3 separate regions of the Homo sapiens genome follow, and regions 1 and 3 are each linked to region 2. The links are contacts of gene promoters, found by promoter capture Hi-C in blood cells and fetal thymus (Javierre and others, 2016). All regions are on one chromosome and are shown on one strand. Each heading gives the region's core, a stretch centred on a gene start or on the middle of the fragment in contact. The rest is flanking DNA. Distances are from core to core; before and after follow the strand shown. Region 1 has its middle 15 kb from the start of SMG1. Region 2 holds the start of VPS35L (VPS35 endosomal protein sorting factor like). Region 3 overlaps PDILT (protein disulfide isomerase like, testis expressed).

Evidence for each region. Contacts are between HindIII fragments. The CHiCAGO score rates a contact against its expected background, and 5 or more counts as called.
Region 1: a fragment that was not itself captured here is called in contact with the fragment with the promoter of VPS35L in region 2 in 1 of 17 cell types (monocytes); the score reaches 6.0 in monocytes.
Region 3: a contact is called between a fragment that was not itself captured here and the fragment with the promoter of VPS35L in region 2, in 1 of 17 cell types (naive CD4 T cells). The highest score is 5.0, in naive CD4 T cells.

The regions. Positions count from the first base shown.
Region 1 is chr16:18,939,768-18,942,542 of GRCh38, forward strand. No RefSeq gene overlaps it. Among named protein-coding and RNA genes, the nearest start is that of SMG1, 15 kb to the left of the region's middle. The HindIII fragment of the contact is 5,220 bases long and covers 1-2,775 here.
Region 2 is chr16:19,554,336-19,557,035 of GRCh38, forward strand. It overlaps VPS35L (VPS35 endosomal protein sorting factor like), which reads left to right and starts at 1,368. Exons shown (of 31, transcript NM_020314.7): 1 at 1,368-1,411. The coding sequence starts at 1,395. RefSeq lists enhancers at 963-1,442, 1,002-1,964, 1,823-2,052. The HindIII fragment of the contact is 7,423 bases long and covers 1-2,149 here.
Region 3 is chr16:20,390,304-20,393,136 of GRCh38, forward strand. All of the region lies in intron 2 of PDILT (protein disulfide isomerase like, testis expressed), which reads right to left. Among named protein-coding and RNA genes, the nearest start is that of PDILT, 13 kb to the right of the region's middle. The HindIII fragment of the contact is 1,753 bases long and covers 474-2,226 here.

The DNA.
Region 1 (2,775 bases), core at 118-2,617, 610 kb before region 2:
GTTTGAAGATATAAATTTGAAAAGAGAGGAAATACTACTTGATTCCTAGGATCAATACTACCCTCCCCACCATTTTCAAAAATAATCTCATTCTGTGGTCTAAGAAAAATAAATAAATTATAAAATAAATCATTAACACTAATCTTTGAAACAGTATTTCCCAAATTATGTTTCTTAGAACATAGCCCCTCGAGGTATGAAAATGGGACTGGGTGTGGTGGTGCATGCCTGTAATCCCAGCACTTTGGGAGCCCAAGGTGGGAGGATAGCTTGAGCCCAGGAGTTTCAGACTAGCCTGAGCAACACAGCAAGACCTCCATAACTCCCCGCCCCTCCCCCTCAAAAGAATTAGCTGGGTGTGGTGATGAACATCTGTAGTCCCAGCTACTTGGGAGGCTGAGGTGGGAGGATCACTTGAGCCCAGGGAGTCAAGGCTGCAGTGGGCTGTGATTGCGCCACTGCACTCCAGCCTGGACAGCAGAGGGAGACTCTCTCTCAAAAAAAAAGAAAAAGAAAAAAATATATAATTTGAGCCACATATGTAATTCTAAACTTTCTAGTAGTCATATTTGAGGAAATTAAAAACAGGTGAAATTCATTTTAACAATATATTTTATCCAAAATATTATCACTTCATGTAATCAATATACAATTATTAATGAGATATTTTGCATTCTGTTTTTGATAAGCCTTGAAAGCCAGTGTGTATTTTACTTACAGCATATTTCAATACAAAGTAGCCACATTTTAAGTGCTCAGTAGCTATAAGTGCTTAGTGGCTACCATATTGGTTTCTGTTAGTCTAAAACTACCACTCTTGTTTATATGTTCTTTCTTCTAAAGAGTTTATTTTTATTTATTTATTTATTTAATTTGTGAGATGGAGTTTTGCTCTTGTGACCCAGGCTGGAGTGCAATGGCACAATCTCAGCTCACTGCAAGCTCTGCCTCCCAGGTTCAAGCAGTTCTCCTCCCTCAGCCTCCCCATTAGCTAGGATTACAGGCACCCACCACCATGCCCAGCTAATTTTTGTATTTTTAGTAGATACGGGATTTCCTCACGTTGGCCAGGCTGGTCTCAAACTCCTGACCTCAGGTGATCCACTCACCTTGGCCTCCCAAAGGAATGGGATTACAGGCATGAGCCACCGCTCCCAGCTGCTTCTAAAGAAGACCTCCCCTGAGGTCAGGAATTCGAGACCAGCCTGGCCAACATGGCGAAACCCCATCTCTACTAAAAAAATACAAAAATTGGCCGGGCGCGGGTGCTCACACCTGTAATCCTATCACTTTGGGAGGCCGAGGCGGGCAGATCACAAGGTCAGGAGATCGAGACCATTCTGGCTAACATGGTGAAACCCCATCTCTAAAAAAAAAACAAATATAGCCGGGCATGGTGGTGGGCGCCTGTAGTCCCAGCTACTTGGGAGGCTGAGGCAGGAGAATGACGTAAACCCGGGAGGCAGAGCTTGCAGTGAGCCGAGATCGCGCCACTGCACTCCAGCCTGGGTGACAGAGCAAGACTCCGTCTCAAAAAAAAAAAAAAAATTCAAAAATTAGCTGGGTGTGGTGGCAGGCACCAGTAATCCCAGCTACTTGGGAGGCTGAGGCAGGAGAATCGCTTGAGCTCGGGAGGCGGAGGTTGCAGTGAGTCGAGATTGTGCCACTGCACCCCAGCCCGGGCAACAGAGCTAGACTCCATCTCAAAAAAAAAAAAAAAAGAAAAGAAAAGAAAAGAAAGCTATTTCCCAAGTTTTGATGTGAGTAACCAGTGTGTTGGTGCCATTTACTGAGATAAGAAAGGCCTGGACAGAGGCAAATTGGAGTCAAGAGTTCTGTTTTGACCATGTTAAATCTGAGATGTGCATGAGATTGCCAAGTGCACATGTCAAGCCAGGAGTAGGGTCTATAAACATGTGGCCTAAATAGGCAAATTTGAGAATCATTGGCCTGAAGATGATACTTTAAGGATATGTGTGGAAACAATGTTACAGAAAATTGGCTCAAGGAAAAGGAAAGTTATACATTTTTAAGTGCAATTAAACAAATTTAAAAACCTAGACTCATCCCTCTTAAAGGCCCTTAAACATCCCTAGAAGCCTCCTTCAGAATCTTGAAGTGTGAACTCTTGTTCTTGGTCTTCTAATTAATCCTGCCTTAGAGTCTCAAGGGCCATTCACAAGCAAGAAGCCTTTTATCATCTCTTGTAAAAAAGAACCTGCAAGAGCTGCTTCTCCTGCTGTATTTCCATTATATCAGTGCTGTTTTCTGAGTTTTTTTTTAATTGCAGTTGTGCAATATTTAAGTCACCTTATAGTTTAAATAAGTGTTTCCAGATTTGCCTTGGGAAATAAGCAGTTGATGCTGTCTCTGTGGGAAAAAAGCTCTGAGGTATACACTTTTGGAACACAACCTGCTGCCTACAAGTTAGGAATTGCCACGTTTGGTTTTAATAAGACCCCACCCTTAACTCCAAGGAGTTTATAATGTAATAATAAACATAGTAACACCAGGGCTGGGTGTGGTGGCTCATGCCTGTAATCCCCACACTTTGGGAGGGTGAAGCAAGAGGATCACTTAAAGCCAGGAGTTCAATACCACCCTGGGCAACATAGTGAGACCCTATGTCTGCAAAACAATAAAAACAATAAATTAATTGAGCATGGTGGCACTCACCTATAGTCCCAGCTACTTGGGAGACTGAGGCAAAAGAATCATTTGAGCCCAAGAGTTCAAGGCTGCAGTAAGCTGTGATTGTGCCACTGCACTCCAGCC
Region 2 (2,700 bases), core at 118-2,617:
AAGGCTCCTCACCTTGACCTCTTATTGAGATGTTGCATGTGATAACATGCATGGCTGTATGGGAAGAGCTCCTTGCTTTCCCGTGGCCACCCTTTAACCCTTGTTCACTTCCAGTGTTGGGAATAGCAGGTACGAGTGGATATACTTTCCTACTCATACTGAGCTGAACACTGGAGGGCCCGTTCTGGAGATGATCCTTTTCCCTGTCATAGGTCACCATCTCATGAACAACCACAGACCACCACCCCCGAATGAAAAGTAAGAGTTATAAAAACATCGAATGCTTTCTCTCTAAGGGACCATAATGGATATCTAAGTAAGTTATAAAAGTAATAATTAAAAAAAAAATTTTTTTTTGAGATGGAGTTTCGCTCTTGTAGCCCAGGCTGGAGTGCAATGGCGCAATCTCGGCTCACTGCAACCTCATCCTCCCGGGTTGGAGCAATTCTCCTGCCTCAGCCTCCCGAGTAGCTGGGATTACAGGCGCCCGCCACCATACCCAACTAGTTTTTGTATTTTTTAGTAGAGACGGGGTTTCACCATGTTGGCCAGGCTGGTCCCGAACTCCTGACATCAGGTGAACCACCCACCTCGGCCTCCCGAAGTTCTGGGATCATAGGCCTGAGCCACCGCTCCCGGCCTAAAATAATTTTTAAAAACGTTCTGTGGTCGAAATGGATATCCACCTTCCTAGAAACACTGCTTTGCCAAGTTGGACGAAATGCGAACCCTAATTTCCCCACGTGCATTAGCTGTAGTCAATCATATTAGATCTAGGGCAGCCCTCGGTTGCTAGTCGTGGGAAGGGCATTCTGCAAGTGTCTAAAACCGCCCGCAAAGCAGTGGGTAAAGCAGCGGCCTAGAGGGGGCATGGCTGTCCCACGCCAAACAGCGTATTAGCCGCAAAACCAGGTACTGGCTGAACCTCAGTTTGCGTCTTCGCTCCGCCGCCTTCTGGAGTCCTTTCTGCCCCTAGAGGACGCAGGTGAGCTAAGCAGCAGTCATGCCCTTTACCATCATGACGCCCGCAGGCGGGACCACCCGGCACTGTAGACAGCTGCCCTTTACAATCATGACTCATAGAAACTACGGCACTCTGGCCGTGGCCGACGTTGCTCCTCCGAAGCATGGCGCCGGCGGGAGTTGTAACCCGGGCTGTCCGGAGCGGGGAGCTGCCCCTCACAAGCATGGCGTCAGCTGAAAATGAAGCCTGTGCTGTGCGGAGCGTCGCCTGCCCCTCACAAGCATGGCGTCTGCAGAAGGTGCTGTGCGGCCGCTGCGGGGCGGCCAGCTGCCCTTCACAAACATGGCGGCCGAGGGGTGCGGGGAGTGGCGGGGTAAGGATGGGAAGCCGAGCAGACGGCCCCAGAACAAGCGGTCATGTGACTGGGAAGATGGCCGTCTTTCCTTGGTAAGGAAGCAGCGGCGGGTGGGCTTTGGAGAGGGGCTGTCCTTACTTGTGATGGGGTCGGCCTGGGTCTGAGAGTGTGAATTCCTCTCTGTCGGGTTCTGGTGGTCGACCGGCCACCCCCAAGTTGTCTTGACCGTAGAATCCCTGGCCGCTACCGCGGTCCAGCGGAGCAATCTGAAGCCAGACTGGCGGGTTCTTGGTTCTCTCCCCGTCTGCTGCCTCTCTGCGCCTTCCACGGGCCCCTGTCCATTCATTCCCTAAAGAAAACTTGAGTTTCCAGGCTTCCGCGTCCCCAGAAGTTGGCGCGGGTTCTGGGGTCGCTGGATGAGGGTAATGGTGGACTCAGCTTTTAAAGTCTGGACGAGTCGGGAGATCTGGCTGTTGGTCAGTTTCCTCAGCTCCTCTGTTCACCTGGAGACTTGCTTTTCTCATCTGTAAAATGGCCGCCATTCATCCTATCCTAGGCACAGCCCTCAGACTTATTCCTTGGCCTCAAGGAGCTGACAGTATAATGGGGCAGACGCACAGTAGAGGGATGTCTAAAGAAGGCATTCGGATGAGGCACCAAGAAGGGAGTGATTATCCCCACCAGGGGGCTAGGGGAAGGCTTCAGAGAGGAGGAGTTAAATTGGGTCTTGGAGGATGAATAGGAGTCCACCATAGGGAGGGCGTGGCGTGTGCCTGGTTGGCAGGCCCGTAGGTCCCTTGTGGTTGGAGTAGCTAGGAATGAGTGACTGAAGCTTCAGGGTTCAGCAGGTGGTATGTGTGTGAGTGAAGAACTTGAGGAAGTTGTGTTGTTGATGATAGTGGGATTTGGGGACGGGGAATCTCTCCTGCATCTCAGAAAGCGAGATAATTTACTTTCTCTTCAAATGATGTGAAGTAGCTTAGATTAAATGAGCAAATGAAAGACCTTAGAAATAATCAGGTACAACCTTCTGCTTTTGAGCTTGATAAACACTTCATTTTGTCTTATTCCTTTCATTTGCCCAACACTTAAGAGACTGCTTCCTTGACACGCTACATCAGCATTGAATGCCTCTGAGCACTTCCACACCCTGAGGTTTTTTTTTTTTTTTCAGTTAATAGTCATGCTGGCTGGGTATGGTGGCTCACGCCTGTAATCCCAGCACTTTGGGAGGCCGAGGCTGGCGGATCACCTGAGGTCAGGGGTTCGAGACCAGCCTGGCCAACATGGCGAAACCTAATCTCTACTAAAAATACAAAAATTAGCTGGGCTAAATTAGTGGTGGCACGCACCTGTAATCCCAGCTACTTGGGAGGGTGAG
Region 3 (2,833 bases), core at 100-2,599, 840 kb after region 2:
TCTTCTCTTCAGAAACCCTATATCTTTAGCCAAATGGGCACAATCTCCCTCACCCCAGGGTATTTTTACTCTCTGTTCCTTCTGCCCTAAATCTGCATGGATCACTGCCTCACCACCTTAAGATCTTTGCTAAAGTGTTACCTTTCCAGGGAGGCTGTCCCTGGCCATCCTATTTAATACTACAGCCCCATCTCCATCCACCCCATGCATTCCCTATCACTCTTGTGTATTTTTCTCCATAGTACTTTTAACCGTAGGAAATACTATATATTTTACTTATTTTTCTTTTGTCTTCTCTCACTAGGATGTCAGTTCCAGGAGGGCAAGGATGATCACCTGTTTTGTTCACCACTATATCCTCAGTGCCTACAATATATCTGGGAAATAACCGTATTCAATAAATACTGAAGGAATGAAGTTTCCAATGATCAGCACAGTGCAAGAAGATGAATTTAGCACCAGTTTTGGTGTCAAGCTTGGTCTCAAATCCAGTCTTCACCACTTACCAGTTGTGTGACCTTGGGCAAATGATCTAACCTTTCTGACACCTACGTGCTTCATATACAAGATGGGGACAAGGTTTTCAAGTGCCGTGCCTGAAACACAGGTGCTTGATAAATGGCCTTTGTTATCATCACCATTGTTGTCATTATCATCACCATAACCATCATCACCAGCACCATCATCACCACTGTCATCACCATCACCATAACAATCATCGTCACCAGCACCATCATCACCATTGTCATTATCATCAGCATAGTTAATAATCATTATTACCAGTACCATCATTGCCATTGTCATCATCACCATCATAACAATTATCACCAGCACCATCATCGCCATTGTCATCATCATCACCATAGTTAATAATCATGATCACCAGTACCATCATCACCATTGTCATCATCATCATAATCGTCATCACCAGCACCATCATCGAAATTGTCATCATCACCATAGTTAATCATCATCATCATTAGCACCATCATCGCCATTGTCATCATCACCACTATAATTAATAATCATTACCATCACCATCATCACCATTGTCATCATCATCATCATCTTCATCATTATTCCATCCACATTACCGTCTCCACATCATGCTCACCATCATCATCTAACCTACTCCTAGGACAGAATCTTGTCACCTCTGCCTTAGGGACAAGTGATAAAGGACCCTAGACAGCTCCTAATCTTATCTTGACCTCTCTCCACTAATGGTAGTGAGTCCTTCTCTCCTTGATTCATTCAAGTTAATGTGGATGGAGAAAATTATGGGCCAAAGGAAATCTCATTCATTCATCTATTCATTCATTTAACATCTATGGAAGCCTACCATGCTCCAAGCACAATGCTGAATGTTAGGAATCAGGAGATGAATAAGATTTGGCCCCCAACATCATGCAATGTACACGATGAAAAGCAGTTTTGATACCATATAGCGAATGCTGAGAGAGAGAGGTTAAAAAGAAGGCAGTGGGAGCATAGGAAGGCCTCCCAGCCAGACTAAGTGGGAGTGAAGGTGGGTACAGCCTACCAATGAGGGGCATAAACTTCACAATCCAGGTGAAGGAGTGTAGGAAGGATACTATGGAAGCTGCAAGTGCAAAGGCCCAGAGGCTGTAGCTGTGGGCTAGATCAAGCAGAAGACCTTAGCTACTGAATGACCTGATCAGATTTGCATTTTAGAGGAAGTCTCTCTGGATGCATTGCAGGACAGCATTGGAGAAGGCAGGGAGACCATCTCAGAGGCTGCTGCAGTGGTTCAGGTGAGGAATAATGAGGCCTGAACCAAGGCAGTGGTGGTGGGATGGGGAGAACAGAGATTGCAAAGGGATTTAGAAAGTGGCATCCACAGGACGTGGTGATGGATTACATGTGAGAGTAGAAGAATCAAGAACAACCTTGAGGTTTCTGACTTTGATACTGAGTGGATGGTGGTACTTTCAGTGAAGGCAGGACATAAGGAGCAGCAGATTGTTGGGACCAAATCAAAGATGCTGAGGTCTGTCGTGGACATGTGGCAATGTCCACATGTGGACAATGTGGGACTGCAAAGAACATTGAGAGGAAAGCTCCCCCAACCACTGGCTCTTGGCCTGGAGTTCTCAGAGAGAAGAGAAAGCTGGTCACCCATTAAGGATCTGAGACTGGGGTGGTCCCTGGGGGCAGTGTCTGAAAATAATCTCTTTTGCAAAGAGCCCATTTACCCTTGAAGAAAGCTTTCATAGTGCTTTCCCCAAGTGATTTGTTTTTCCAAAGGCCACTTTAGAAGGCCGGCTAGTTTTTTTAAGAACTCATTTTGAATTTAATTATGTATTGGCAGGAATCAAAGATGCAAATGTAATGAGATTAATTGAGTGTCCCTTTTAGATAAGAAAATTTCTGCTGTTGTTGAGTTCACTGCTTTGAAATACCTGCTAGTGGAAAGGCTTTAGGTTTAAAGTATGCATGTTGGTTGTGTCAAATGCAATTCAAGAATGTGAAATTGATTGGTTCCCTCTGTAGCCTCAGATTTAGTGTCAGTTCTTAAGTCATAAGAATTAAAGAACCATGAACTCACCCTTCTGCCCTGGTTAAAACAGAGCAGAGCCTTCTATTCTCATGTGGACTGGACAGGTTTCCCAGCCTTATCCATCCACTGCACCATTTTTGGAAGGGGAATGTGTTGAGGTGTGTTATGTGTTTGTGTAAATGTATGGCTCTAAGCCTTTTAACACCTCCATTGAGGGTCTCAGATTAGAAATTAGGGCTGCAGCAAAAGAGATGGTTTGGATGTTTTATCTATGTAAACCATTAGTTTACCAATTCCACAGCAAGTGGAGTG